2 separate regions of the Homo sapiens genome follow, and region 2 is linked to region 1. The links are contacts of gene promoters, found by promoter capture Hi-C in blood cells and fetal thymus (Javierre and others, 2016). All regions are on one chromosome and are shown on one strand. Each heading gives the region's core, a stretch centred on a gene start or on the middle of the fragment in contact. The rest is flanking DNA. Distances are from core to core; before and after follow the strand shown. Region 1 holds the start of DNAJC2 (DnaJ heat shock protein family (Hsp40) member C2). Region 2 holds the start of RINT1 (RAD50 interactor 1).

Region 1 (7,033 bases), core at 1,521-4,020:
TTGGACTGATTACCTGTGAGAAGGAAACTTTACAGTGTTTGTAAAACGCCTGGCATATTAGACACAATAAGTAGTGGCCACATCTACAAATATAGTGAAGGTAATCTATTTCTGGTAAAGAGTTAATATCCAGAATATATAAAGAACTCCTACCACACAAGAAAACAACCTGATTTTTTAAGTGGGCAAATAACCTGAATAAACATTGCTCCAAAGAAGATATACAAATGGACAACATCACTGTTAGGAAATGCAAATCAAAACCACAGTTGGATGCCACCACATACCTATTAAGATAGCTATTATTAAAAAACAAGCAAAAACAAAACAGAAAATAAGTGTTGGAAAGGATGACCCTTGGGTCCAGCCAACCCTTGCATGTGCTGCTGGATAAAATGGAATCCTGGTGCACTGTTGATGTAAATGTAAAATGATAAAATGGTGCAACTGCTGTGGGAAACAGTATGATTGATTCCTCAGGAAATTAAAAATAATTACCATGCCACCTAGCAATTCGATTTCTGGATGTGTATCCAAAAGAACTGAAAACAGGATCTCAAAGAGATATTTGTACATCCATGTCCATAAGCAGCATTAGTCATGATACCCATAAGGTGGAAGCAACCCAAGTGTCCATCTACATATGAATGGATAAACAAAATGTGATACACGCATGCGCGCTCACACACACACACACACACACACACACACACACACATTATTCAGCCTTAAAAAGGAATGAAATTCTAGTATAAGCTACAACACAGATGAACCTTGAAGACATTATGCTAAGTGAATAAGTCAGTCACAAAAAAGACAAATACTATATGATTCCACAAATATGAAGTACCTAGAGGTGTCAAATTCCTAAAGACAAAGTAGAAGGATGGTTTCCAGTGGACAGTTTTTTCCACTGGCATAGTTTCAGTTTTGTAAGAGATTAAATGGGTATAGAGTTTCAGTTTTGTAAGATAAAAATAGTTTTGTAGGGTGGTTACACAATAATGTGAATGTACTTAACATTACTGTAAACTTAAAAACGGTGAAGATCGTAAATTTCATGTTATGTGTGTTTTAGCACAATTTTTTTAAAAAACAAAACCCCCGACCGGGCACCGTGGCTCACCCCTGTAATTCCAGCACTTTGGGAGGCTGAAGCAGGCAGATCATGAGGTCAGGAGTTGGAGACCAGCCTGGCCAACATGGCTAAACCCCGTCTCTACTACAAATACAGAAATTAGCTGGGCGTGGTGGCACGCACCTGTAATCCCAGCTACTCGGGAGGCTGAGGCAGGAGAATCGCTTGAACCTGGGAGGCAGAGATTGCAGTGAGCCGAAATCAGGCCACTGCACTCCAGCCTGGGCGACAGAGCAAGCCTCTGTCTCAGAAAAGAAAACAACAAAAAAACAAAAACCCATGTTAGAGTTAATGGTAAAATTGAATGGGAGGAGGTGTGAGGAAAAAAATATATTAATATGAAGAAAGTGGAGTCAGGTTACTTTGCACCTTGGAGCATGTTTTAACAGTGGTTGCATTAGTAGGGATCAGGAAGAGGTTTTGGGGCAGAAGATTAGTTCAATTTTTTTTTTTTTAAAGACGGGGTCTCACTGTTACCCAGGCTGGAGCGCAATGGTGTGATCTCAGCTCACTGCAACCTCCACCTCCCGGCCTCAACGATCTTCCCACCTCAGCCTCCCTTAGTTCAATTTTTGAAAAGTCAGTTTTGAAGTGACAATTTTATCATGCAGCAGATATACAGACCAATTAAATGTATTTAATTGGCCTGGCACAGTGACTCACGCCTCTAATCCCAGAGTTTTGGGAGACTGAGGCAGGAGGATCCCTTGAGGCCAGGAGTTCAAGACCACCTTGGGCAACATAGTGAGACCCTGTCTCTACAAAAAAAAATATACATATATATATATATAATATATTTAAAAACTTTAATTGTGAAAATATAATGAAATTAGTAAGTTATTTTCTAATTTACTAATTTCTGGTGGTCCTTGCTAAAGAGTGGCATATCAAGTTTATTTTATTGAACCTGTTTCAGATACTGCTGTTGGGGGTGAGCCTTTACCCACTGTTTGTTTTTGCTAGTTTTTGCTTTTGACTGCAGTCTTAGAAGGAAGCATATAGTAGGAATACAATTGATTTTATTATACATTAAAAAATTAAGTCCCAGAGTCCTATAATTGGGAATATCTTGAATAAAAACTTCATTAGAACAAGGTAAAAATATTGCTGGCCTTGGAATACAATCTAACACACTAGAGAGAGGTTTCTTCTCCAAGCGAGTATTAAAAGATATAATGCAGGTAAATTAGTAATAGCACGACAAATATTAGCTGCTATTATCATCATCAAGTTAAACACAAATGTATCACAAATACACGTACGTAATTCTCCGCAAATGTATATACTAGTCGTCGATACTGGTTCATACAGGTATTTTCATTTTTTACTTAAAAGTATAGCGCTCCTGGGAAAATCACTGATTAGGTTCAGATTAATACATAAAGCAGTAAGAACTTAAAGATAATATAAAAAGAACTGCTTTTAAAGGTTATGTTCTATGTATTGCACTGGGACGTGGAATATAATCCTTTTTACAGGAAAACTGATGCGCCTAGGAACCATTCTCTCGTGCGACTTGGTCTCCAGCCGGATCTCAGTCAGTATAGAACTAGGTTACCGCACACGTTGGCGGGGGTGGGAGGGTGTGAGACTGGCCTCCACACCACGAAAGATCCATCCCGGAAGTGCTTACTGGTCGTCTCCATGCGCCGGTTCCTGGGCGTCTTAGAGCCAAGGCGCGAGGCTCGGAGTGAGAGGTAGAGCTGGAGGGGACCCTAAGCGCCCTCCGCCCGGGACGTGAGCCGCTGCGCCCACCGGGCTAGACCCGGCGCCATCATGCTGCTTCTGCCAAGCGCCGCGGACGGCCGGGGCACCGCCATCACCCACGCTCTGACCTCTGGTAAGTGCCCACCCAACCTCGGTTCCTTCTCACCTCAGCTGCCCCTGCCTCAGTCCTCCGCCTCGGCAACCCTGGGCTCTCTCTACCCTTGACCCTGGCGACTAGCCCCGGGGCCGTATGGGGCCGTGACGAGTGCCTTTTTGCTCCGTGTTTTAAAGTAATCCTACCCTAGATTAGAAGGAAGGAGGGTGAGGGGTGCCTTCCTTTTGCTCCTACCGTTGCTTCCTCCTCTCGCCGCTGCTGACTCATGGATTGGGCTGAGCATTTCGGGACGGAACCCCCCAGCACCCCAGAAAGGTTCTCATAAGCATCTCCTTGCCTACGGTGGAAAGACTACGCGCAGCGAGCACCCCACGTGCCTGGGGTCGTACAAAGCTTTGCTACTGGCGCTCTCTTAAACAACTTTCTCCCTCTCTACGTTTGCTCCGGCCTTGTTTTTTAAATGTCACAACTCAGACACCGCTCCTCATACTCGGTGTTCAAAGACTGTGCTGCTGAAAAGATCCGCGTAGACTTTGAAAGGCAGTTATTACAAGTGAAACTTGTCCTGCTGCTGTAGGTTTTAGTTTTATGGCCCAGGACAGTCATGAGTATTGTAAACTTAAGAGTCTTCAGGTCCAGTGATCTACAGTAATTCCCATAGCCAGTCACATAGGCGCTTGTTGAATGTGATTTTGAACATAACCCATGGCACGTGTTGCATTTATGTGTCTCCGTGTGCCTCTTACAACTAGAGCAAAAGGCTTAAAAGGCAGTGTTCTTAAAAGCCACACACCCATACTACACAGGTAGTACCTTTTTGACAGTGTTTTAATCCTCTCCTGTGTAAGGTGGAGGAAATCTTAAAATAAGTTGTTCAGGGATTTTCCTTTTTTGAATTGCTAGTATACACATGTACAGTGATTTACCCCCACTTCCCAGGAATAGATGATACCTTTACTACAAGTTTGTAATTTCAGAGAGTTTCTGTGGTCTCATTCAAGCTTCCTAGGAACTGAATGAGATAAATAGGTATTGTTCCCATTTTACAGGTGAAGACATCCTGATTCATTTCAGGTCACATAGCCACTGTCAGACCTAGTCTAAAACCCAGAGTGTCTGGTTTCAGATTGAGAGCTTGTTCCACTACAGCTTAGCTGCATTAGTAAATTCCCATTTGCTGCTTGGAAAATTGCTTTCAGGACAAATTCTTGTTAGTGAATTCTTAAAATTTTTAAGAGCTATATTCAAGATTTTAATAATTAAGACAGTTTGAGTTGTCTGGGTGCGGTGGCTCACGTCTATAATCCCAGCACTTTGGGAGGCCGAGGCAGGTGGATCACCTGAGGTCAGCAGTTCGAGACCAGCCTGGCTAACAGGGTGAAACCCTGTCTCTACTAAAAATACAAAAAAGTAGCTGGGCGTGGTGGCGGGCGCCTATAATCCCAGCAACTTGGGAGGCTGAGGCAGAAGAATCGTTTGAACCCGGGAGGCGGAGGTTGCAGTGAGCCGAGATTGCGCTATTGCACTACAGCCTGGACAACAAGAGCAAAACTCCGTCTCAAAAAATAAAAAGATAGTTTGAGTTGTTTTTAGATTTTTTATTTTTGGTGAGGCTAGCTCTTCGTGACAATTTATCACTATTTATTACTTTATTAAAATTATTTGTCTAGGCCGGGCGCGGTGGCTCACGCCTGTAATCCCAGCATTTTGGCAGGCCGAGGTGGGTGGATCACGAGGTCAGGAGATCAAGACCATCCTGGCTAATATGGTGAAACCCCGTCTTTACTAAAAATGCAAAAAATTAGCCGGGGGTGGTGGCGGGTGCCTGTAGTCCCAGCTACTCGGGAGGCTGAGGCAGGAGAATCGCTTGAACCCGGGAGGCGGAGCTTTCAGTGAGCCAAGATCGCGCCATTGCACTCCAGCCTGGGTGACAGAGCAAGACTCCGTCCCAAAAAAAAAAAAAAAATTGTCCAGGTGGGTGCAGTGGCTCACGCCTGTAATGCCAACACTTTGGGAGGCCGAGGCAGGCAGATCACCTGAGGTCGGGAGTTCGAGACCAGGCTGACCAACATGGAGAAACCCCATCTCTACTAAAAATACAAAATTAGCTGGGCATGGTGGCGCATGCCTGTAATCCCAGCTGCTTGGAAGGCTGAGGCACAAGAATCACTTGAACCCGGGAGGTGGAGACGGCATTGAGCCGAGATCTCGCCATTGCATTCCAGCCTGGGCAGTAAGAGCAAAACTTCATCTCAAAAAAAAAAAAAAGTAAAAAAATAAATAATTTGTCTAAAAGTAAAGTAGTTTGCAACATTTCTTCCTGTTCCTCACCTTACTCATATCCCCAAAAAAGTACTGATTTATCATTGACATTACTGAGTTTTTTTTGTTTTGTCAGATAACTGGAAGAGGTTGATTAAATACTCTTTAATACTAGGAAAGGATAATTTCTTGCTAACCCTCATGTAAACTGGATGACTGCAATTATTTTCGTAGTCGGTGGTTTTAAAAGTATATGCTGGTATCACTGTTTTGATTTTATTTCCTGAAAAAATTAATTGCCTTGAAACATATTTATTCCATGCGATACACTGAAGCCTCTCTTAACACTTTCAATCACAGCCTCTACACTCTGTCAAGTTGAACCTGTGGGAAGATGGTTTGAAGCTTTTGTTAAGAGGAGAAACAGAAATGCTTCTGCCTCTTTTCAGGAACTGGAGGATAAGAAAGAGTTATCCGAGGAATCAGAAGATGAAGAATTGCAGTTGGAAGAGTTTCCCATGCTGAAAACACTTGATCCCAAAGACTGGAAGGTATTTAATATCTGAATATTTTGTTCAGTCAGATGCTTTGTTAGACATAGACAATTTTCTTATGAGTTTTCCATTAATAAACATGTTTTAAGATGATTCAGCAAGATAACTATGATTTAGCATCTGTTTATTACTAAGTCTTGAGAGCATTAGCACTAGCCATGAGATACTGTCTCTGCTGGAGAAATCCAGGAAGAGTTCACAGAAAAGATAATGTTTGCACCGGTCTTAAAAGGACAGGCAGCAATTAGTGAAGCAGAGAAGTGAGAAAAGTATTCTGGGCAGAAGGAGTAAGATATACAAAGACACAAAGGAGTAAAAGAATATGTAGTGCCTCTTGAGGAATTGATAAGTCGTATAGGGTACATGCGGTATGGTGATGAGAAATCTAGTGTCTTTAAAAGGACACTAGACCAAACTCTGTTGTGTCCTTTTTATACCATGCTAAAGAAGGAATTAAAATTTATTTTTGGGACAGTAAGATACCATCAAAAGTTTCTTAGCTAATTTTAGAAAAGTAATTCCCTTGGCAGTACAGGAAATTGCTTGAAAGGGGGCAAGGGACTGGAGGGGAAGTGAATAGTTTACTGTTATAGGGCTAGTGCACTAAGGCAGACCTGTGACTGAATCCTTGAACTTACTATGTGGCTGGGTTTTGAGGAAGAGGGGTCAGATTTGCCTTTTTTGGAGGTAGCATTAACAGGCTTTGGTGACCCTGGCTGTGTGGCACAAGACAAAGAGAAGTATTCAGAGGTCCTTCCCAGCATTAGCGCTTGAGTGACCTGCTAGAGTGTGTGGTCAGTAACCAATGCTGGGATGAGGATAAGAATGTTTGTGGGAGGTGCTGTTTGTGTCCAAGTTTGACTATGTGAAGACTGAGGTTTTGGTACCATAGTGGTGAAGCTGTCTAGTAGATGGTTAGAAATTGGTCTATGACTCCAAAAAGAGGTTACAGCCAAAGACTTTTTGAAGTCATTGGCACATAGTGGTGGTTGCTGTGAGGAATTGAATGACAACAGCAAGGGACAAAAGTATAAACAAATAGATAATGCTTTAGTAGGTACTTGTATAATAGTTAAATGCGTATGCTGTGGAATTGGAGTGCCTGAATTCAAATCTGGTTCTGCCATTTGGTGCACTTCGACCTTGGGAAAGTTCCCAGATATGTGTGTACCTCATTTCCCTTGTTGCTACAGTGAGATTGTTAACAGCTCAAAGGTTTACCTTGAGGATTAATAAAAGGATGCTTATAAAGCACTT
Region 2 (7,033 bases), core at 1,287-3,786, 2.2 Mb before region 1:
ATTAGGGAAACAAACCTGATTACAGTGGGTAAAAGATGAATGACAAAAAGTAGAGATAGATAACAAAGGTTACTTTCTGAAGCCTGACAATCAAAGGAAAGAACTAATACCTGCTAAAAGATCATGGGTTTTTTTGTTTCTTTGTTAAGGTTTTATGGAAAAGACCTGTCTATGTGCACATGCTGAAGGGATAGGACTGGTTGACGAACACAGGGTAAAATTATAAGAGTGACACAAGTTTACTGAGGTGGCAGAGAGAACCTGGGGTATAAGGTCTGCCTTCGACTGATCCTTTGCTGAATGAAGAGGTTAAAAATGACTGCACATAAATTTGTCGATTGTGGGATAGACTATTCAACAGACTGAATTCAATGCTACTAAATTCATGCTAGGCTTCTATTTTTTTCTGCTAGGGAAAAGGAAAGGGCAGAATGGACAGGTTGGGTAGATGTCTCAAACAGAATCTGAAAGAACAGTTGAGGGGAGTAGCAGAGGAGCTGACGTTCCCATGGAAGGACTGCTGGTGGGGCTGAAGACTCAGCCAGGGTGGCAGACCACACACATAGATTGGCATCAATCTACTCAGCTGCATGACTTCCTCCAACTGGGCCCACAACAACCTGCCTGCAGGAGTGAAAAGGCAGACAAAGCCAGGCTAAACTTGAAGACTAGCAGTAGTTGTGGTGGGAAGACAGGAAGGTGTGGAGGCCTAAGGTAATGGGGACAGGAGAATATACGATGACCAAAAACCTGGAAATAACCCACACAGAATTTACTTAACCTAATTTAGTAGCTATATGATAAAAATGTTTTATCTTGGCCGGGTGTGGTGGCTCATGCCTGTAACCCTAGCATTTTGGGAGGCCAAGGCAGGCGGATCACGAGGTCAAGGAATCGAAACCATCTTGGCCCAAGTGGTGAAACCCTGTCTCTACTAAAAATACCAAAATTAGCTGGGCGTGGTGTCGCGTGCCTGTAGTCCCAGCTACTCGGGAGGCTGAGGCAGGAGAATCACTTGAACCCAGGAGGCAGAGGTTGCAGTGAGCCGAGATCACGCCATTGCACTCCAGTCTGGGCGACAGAGTCAGACTCCGTCTCAAAAAAAAAGAAAAAAATGTTTTATCTTTGACAAACACACCATTGCCAAGTAGAGGGGCCTACTTATTTTTTTGTTTAAGCTTATACTCATTGGGTTTTTAAAAAATTATTTTAAGTGATATGTTCATTGTAAAAGAAAAAAAAACCTATAAATACATAGAAATATATATTTTTGAGACGGAGTGTCACTTTTGTTGCCCCGGCTGGAGTGCGATGGCATGATCTCAGCTCACAGCAAACTCCGCCTCCTGGGTTCAAGCGATTCTCCTGCCTCAGCCTCCCGAGTAGCTGGGATTACAGGTGCCCGCCACCACACCTGGCTAATTTTTTTTGTTGTATTTTTAGTAGAGTCGGGATTTCACCATGTGGGTCAGGCTGGTCTCAAACTCCTGACCTCAGGTGATCCACCTGCCTTGGCCTCCCAAAGTGCTGGGATTACAGGTGTGAGCCACCGTGCCAGGCCTAAAAATATTTTTTAAATACATCACTTGTCAACCAACCACACAGAAATAACCGTTACGTTATACTTCTTTTCACTTTATACTTCTCCCTATGGGTACATTTATTAAAATCTGAAATGTGGCCGGGTATAGCAGCTCACATCTGTAATCCCGGAACTATGGGAGGCCAAGGCAGGTGGATCACCTGCGGTCAGGAGTTCAAGACCAGCCTTGCCAACATGATGAAACCCCATCTCTACCTAAAATACAAAATTAGCTGGGCAGGGTGACACATGCCTGTAATCCCAGCTACATGGGAGGCTAAGGCAGGAGAATTGCTTGAACCTGGGAGGCAGAGGTTGCAGTGAGCCAAGATGGCGCCATTGTACTCCAACCTGGGCAACAAGAGCAAAACTCCGTCTCAAAAAAAAAAAAAAAAAAAAAATTGAAATGATGGTGTTTACACCATGGTATATATTTTTGTATGCCATGAAATTATTTGCTTGTAAAAGCAATTTAAAAGTCACTGTATGTTCACTAGAAACAGATTGAAAGGAAAAAAAAGTCACTCTATGAAAATCTATGTAAAATGTTAGGTCTCACTATGTTTTGAAGACAAACCATATCAGTAGGAACTTTGTCTTTTACCTAATTTGTAAAATAGGTAATACAATGTACGTTCTTAAATCCTCTTAAACAGTATATAATAGACTATTTGTCACGTTCTATATCTTTAAAATTCTATATATAATAGATTATGTTTATATTATATTGTTAAAAGTATTCCACTGATAATTATTTCAGTGAGTTTCAATACTTACCTGTTCTTCTAACTGCATTTTACTTACTGTCCTCTGTTCTATGAGTTTATCAAGTTTCTTTAAAGATTTAAGGTCATTTCCAACTTCCTTTTCTATGAATGCAGACACATAAGAAGGGAGATCACCATTATCTGTACCTTCACTGACTTGTTTACTTCCAATAAGAACTGTAACATTTATGTCACCTACAACAAAAGAATAACAATTACTCAACGCCACTAAGTACTATGGAGTTAAAGAAAATATAAAACATATAAAAGCAGTTTATCTGCCTTCAAAAGTTAATAATTTTGCCAGGCACGGTGGCTCACACCTGTGATCCCAGCACTTTGGGAGGCTGAGGCAGGTGCATCACCTGAGGCCAGGAGTTTAAGACTAGCCTGGCAAACACGGCGAAATCCCGTCTCTACTAAAAATACAAAAATTAGCCAGGCGTGGGGGCACAGGCCTGTAGTCCCAGCTATTCGGGAGGCTGAGGCACGAGAATCCCTTGAACCCAAGAGGCAGAGGTTGCAGTGAGCCAAGATCACACCACTGCACTCCAGCCTGGGCGACACAGACAGACTCTGTATCAAAAAACAAAACCAAAACAAAGCGCCACTGCACTCCAGCCTGGGCGACAGAGACTCTGTATCAAAAAACAAAACCAAAACAAAACAAAGTTAATAATTTAAAGAACAACACACACAGACAAATGCCCAGAAGAATAGCTCTAAAGCACTCTATCAAACAACTACTGCAAAATGCTTAAGAGCTGAGGGAAGTATTAAAGGAAAAATTCCTAAAGTGTGATCCAGTAACCACAGGTTTCAATAGACAAGGAATAATACCTTTTCAAAATGTGTAAGGAACCAGTAGTATGGTCTAGGGCAACACCAAAAGAAGACTCTTGTTTTAAAGTGTTTTTAAAAAGACCGGGCGCAGGGGCTCACACCTGTAATCCCAGCACTGTGGGAGGCCAAGGCAGGAGGATCACTTGAGCCCAGAAGTTCTAGACCAGCCTAGGCAACAAAGCAAGACTTCATCTAACAAAATTAGCCAGGAATGGTGGAACACACCTGTAGTCTCAGGTGGGCTGAGGTGGGAGGATTGCTTGAGCAGCCTGGGAGATGGAGGCTGCAGTGAGCCATGATCTCACTACTACATTCCAGCCTGGACAGCAGAGCAAGACCTCATCTCTTAAAAACAAACAAACAAACAAACAAAAAAGTAAAAAAGGTTTGGCTGGGCGAGGTGGCTCAGGCCTGTAATCTCAGCACTTTGGGAGGTTGAGGCAGGCAGATCACAAGGTCAGGAGTTCGAGACCAGCCTGGCCAATATGGTGAAAACCTGTCTCTACTAAAAATACAAAAATTAGCTGGGCATGGCGGTGCACGCTTATAGTCCCAGCTACTCGGGAGGCTGAGGCAGAAGAATCGCTTGAACCCGGGAGGCGGAGGTTGCAGTGAGCCGAGATCACGCCACTGCACTCCAGCCTGGGCAACAGAGTGAGACTCTGCCTCAAAAAAAAAAAAAAAAAAGGTTTTTAAGCTTCAAATGTCATCGATGTCATTGTACAAAGATATCTTTGTCAGAAACAGAAAAAAGAAAATATGAGAGAACAAATTACTAGGAAAAAATCAAAATGACAAATGCAACCACTAAATAGTATAAAGTGAGATTCTTTCCATGGCAAATAAACTACCTGTTTTGTGACATTTAATAAGTCCAATACACATTAGGCTTATTAATATTAATATCTAAATAATGATATGCCTAAGTGCAAAATGTAAATGTCAGATATTGGTCAACTATTTATGTAAAGATTAACAGAATATATACCAATGTTTTATACAGAGTATGTTCCTGTCTCCACCCCTACACCCCAACAAACAAAATTTCCTTTGTTCTACTTAACTTATATGAATTAAATTAAAAGATTTTTCACATGCTGTGAGAATCAGGAGGTGGTACTGACCTTTTCCCCCTTTCCTGTTCAGTGCAAGATCCAGAACCCAAGCTATACATTGTGCCTTCCCAGAGCAATTTTAAATTGACAATTTAGAGGGTAGGAGAGGCAATATTAACATAACACTATGCCTCAATTTTCCAACTAGAAAACAAATTGTAACATTTGCCCCAGCCTATATCTCAAGGTTATAAATGGGACTATATAATACAAATTATATATTAATTATACTATATAATTATATATAATATTAACGTATAATAATCTACTATTATGTACAGAACTCACAATGCCTTTTTTAAATCTTAAATAAAACAAGTGATTTGTGTGGTGTATCTGCAGATAAATGGAGGCAGGAAATGTTTTGTGAATGCTAAAGTTGCTGTATCTTAGGGAGGAAATTCTACCTTCATTTTTTAAAAAAAATTACACCCACTGAGCACAGTGGCTCATGCCTATAATCCCAGCACTTTGGAAGGCCGAGGACGGTGGATTGCCTGAGGTCAGGAGTTCAAGACCAGCCTAACCAAAATGGTGAAACCCTGCCTCTACTAAAAATACAAAAATTAGCCGGGTGTTTGGCGGGCACCAGTAATCCCAGCTACTGAGGAGGCCGAGGCAGGGGAATTACTTGAACTCAGAGGCGGAGCTTGCAGTAAGGCGAGATCGCGCCACTGCACTCCAGCCTGAGAGACAGAGTGAGACTAAGTCTCAAAAAAAAAAAAAATTACACCCTTGATGTGTAACCATTCAAATGTGGCATAGTACATTCTTAGTGAAATGACATTCTTCAAAATGACACACCGGTGGTTTGGGAGGTTTTTATGTGTCTCCTTTTCTATTTTTTGTAAAGAGCACTCCTAACTGCAAAGCAGTTTGAGCTGTGGAAAGAGGAACAAGGTCAAAGTCCTTGATATGATAGTCTACATCTATTATTTTATTAAAATGACAGCTCAGTAGGCATCAGACTACTTTCCAGGCATCTGAATGAGGCAAAGGTGGAAAATGGAAAGGGAAGGGTTTAACTGAGAGATACAAGGCACTCTGAAATCCTTCAAGAAAAAGGAGCTGAGATGTGGCAGTTATGACAGTCATGTGCTATGGACTGCTCAGAGCCTTCTTTCTGAGGCAGATTCTATCAGCCGCTAATGTTAAGGGCAAATCTTACTCCTAAGGGCCATGTGCTAATGTGGGCACCGTTTTTCTTACTGCTACACATTCCCAACTGTTTGCCACAGTCAAAAGAACCAAAAATCCCAATAGCAGAGCTATCACATGCTTTTCCCCTTCCTCTCCCAAAAAATGTCACTTCAAAGGTCCCTAAAGAGCCCTTGATTTGCAATAACCTGCCATCAAAGTAAAATGGCAAAAGTCCACAACCCTGACATATACTCCCGTACTAGGGAGGAAATGGTGGTACTGACCTTTTCCCCCTTTCCTGTCCAGTCCAAGATCCAGAACCCAAGTTATCCGTTGTGCTCTTGCCAGAGCAATTTTAAATTGCCAATTTACTGAAGGTGAACTAAACAACTGTCATTTGCCTCCTTTGAACCCAATTAGGGTGGTGGTCGTCTGTCCTAGATCATGGGCCCCTCCAAATTCCTGATGCTTAGTAAGTTGATGTTTCATTAAAATGACAGGCAGGCCCCAATTATTCTGAGTACTGTATGATAGGCAGACTTCCAGCGAAAACACTCTAGTCCCTGTACTAGGTATGGATCGGGAAGTGCTCTTCTCCAAAGCATCCCATATTTTACAATTTTAGAAAGACAAAAATATGTGTATCATGGTCATCAGTATTACCATATAAGCATATTGTGCAGAAAACGGTACTGCATCTAAAAGATAGGCAAAGAACCTTTCTATATTGCAGACCCTGGAAGGCTGAGTTTGGGCGGGAAGAAAAAGCTAAGGTGTTTGGAGCTGGCTTACTTTTCTCCTCGAGGTTCTTCCTTTCGTCACCACTTTCAGAGCAGCACTAGAAGAAGAACAGATGTGACAAGCACATTAAGATTAAAGTCGTGGATGGAAAGCATACGGGGCTCCCAAAGGGCACCCACTGGAGGCAAGAGAGGTTCCAGACGCTCTCCCACTTTCTGAGCGACCAGGGCCGTCCGAATCAGGTACCTCAAAGTGCCACTGTCCTGGTGCCACCGCCACCTTCCCAGGAGGTGTGTGTCACCTCCGCAGGACCTGGAGTTACCTTGCCTGCTCACTAGAGCCACCTCCCTAGAGAAATCTGTCATCTCACCAGGGCCGCCAAAGCCACTTCACGGGGACTACCGCCTCCTCTAGGAGGTCTTACAAGGGCCTCTAATCTAAGCCGCAGGAAGCACCTTCACAAGCTTACAGGGCCACCGCACCGGGACTATCTCCCCCGGGAGGTCTGTGCCACCTCAATGGGCCACCAATGTCCCCTCCCAGGGACGCCAGGGCCGTCTCACCGGGGCTGCAGGAGAGGCGCCGATCTCGCCGGCTGGTAGCATCTCGCCTCCGCGCGAGTCCTCGGCTCCATTCGCAGCCAGCGTGGCCTGTGGAGTCTGGCTAAGGCCAGCGACACACTCACTACCCAGCCTCGGAGGCCGTAGGACTGAGTGCCACAGCGACTTCCTCTCGATGTCTCACTGGTTTCTTCCTCTCAGCCCAGAGAGGCCCTGCCCGTGCAGCCGCCGGCCGTGCTCTGTTCCTCCCCCTCCTGACCGGAGGTCGGAACGGCCACTCAGGAA

The links. The method cuts DNA at HindIII sites, captures the fragments that hold promoters and counts their contacts. A CHiCAGO score of 5 or more calls a contact.
Region 2: a fragment that was not itself captured here is called in contact with the fragment with the promoter of DNAJC2 in region 1 in 1 of 17 cell types (naive CD8 T cells); the score reaches 6.2 in naive CD8 T cells.

Annotation. Positions count from the first base shown.
Region 1 is chr7:103,340,504-103,347,536 of GRCh38, reverse strand. DNAJC2 (DnaJ heat shock protein family (Hsp40) member C2) reads left to right here and starts at 2,770. Exons shown (of 17, transcript NM_014377.3): 1 at 2,770-2,978; 2 at 5,583-5,773. The coding sequence starts at 2,915. It also overlaps a transcript of PMPCB not described here and a transcript of PSMC2 not described here. RefSeq lists an enhancer at 2,588-2,827. The HindIII fragment of the contact is 5,590 bases long and covers 1-3,355 here.
Region 2 is chr7:105,532,076-105,539,108 of GRCh38, reverse strand. RINT1 (RAD50 interactor 1) reads right to left here and starts at 6,908. Exons shown (of 15, transcript NM_021930.6): 1 at 6,752-6,908; 2 at 6,240-6,285; 3 at 2,360-2,544. The coding sequence starts at 6,793. RefSeq lists enhancers at 6,136-6,712, 6,558-6,737, 6,828-7,033, 6,713-7,033. The HindIII fragment of the contact is 2,711 bases long and covers 1,181-3,891 here.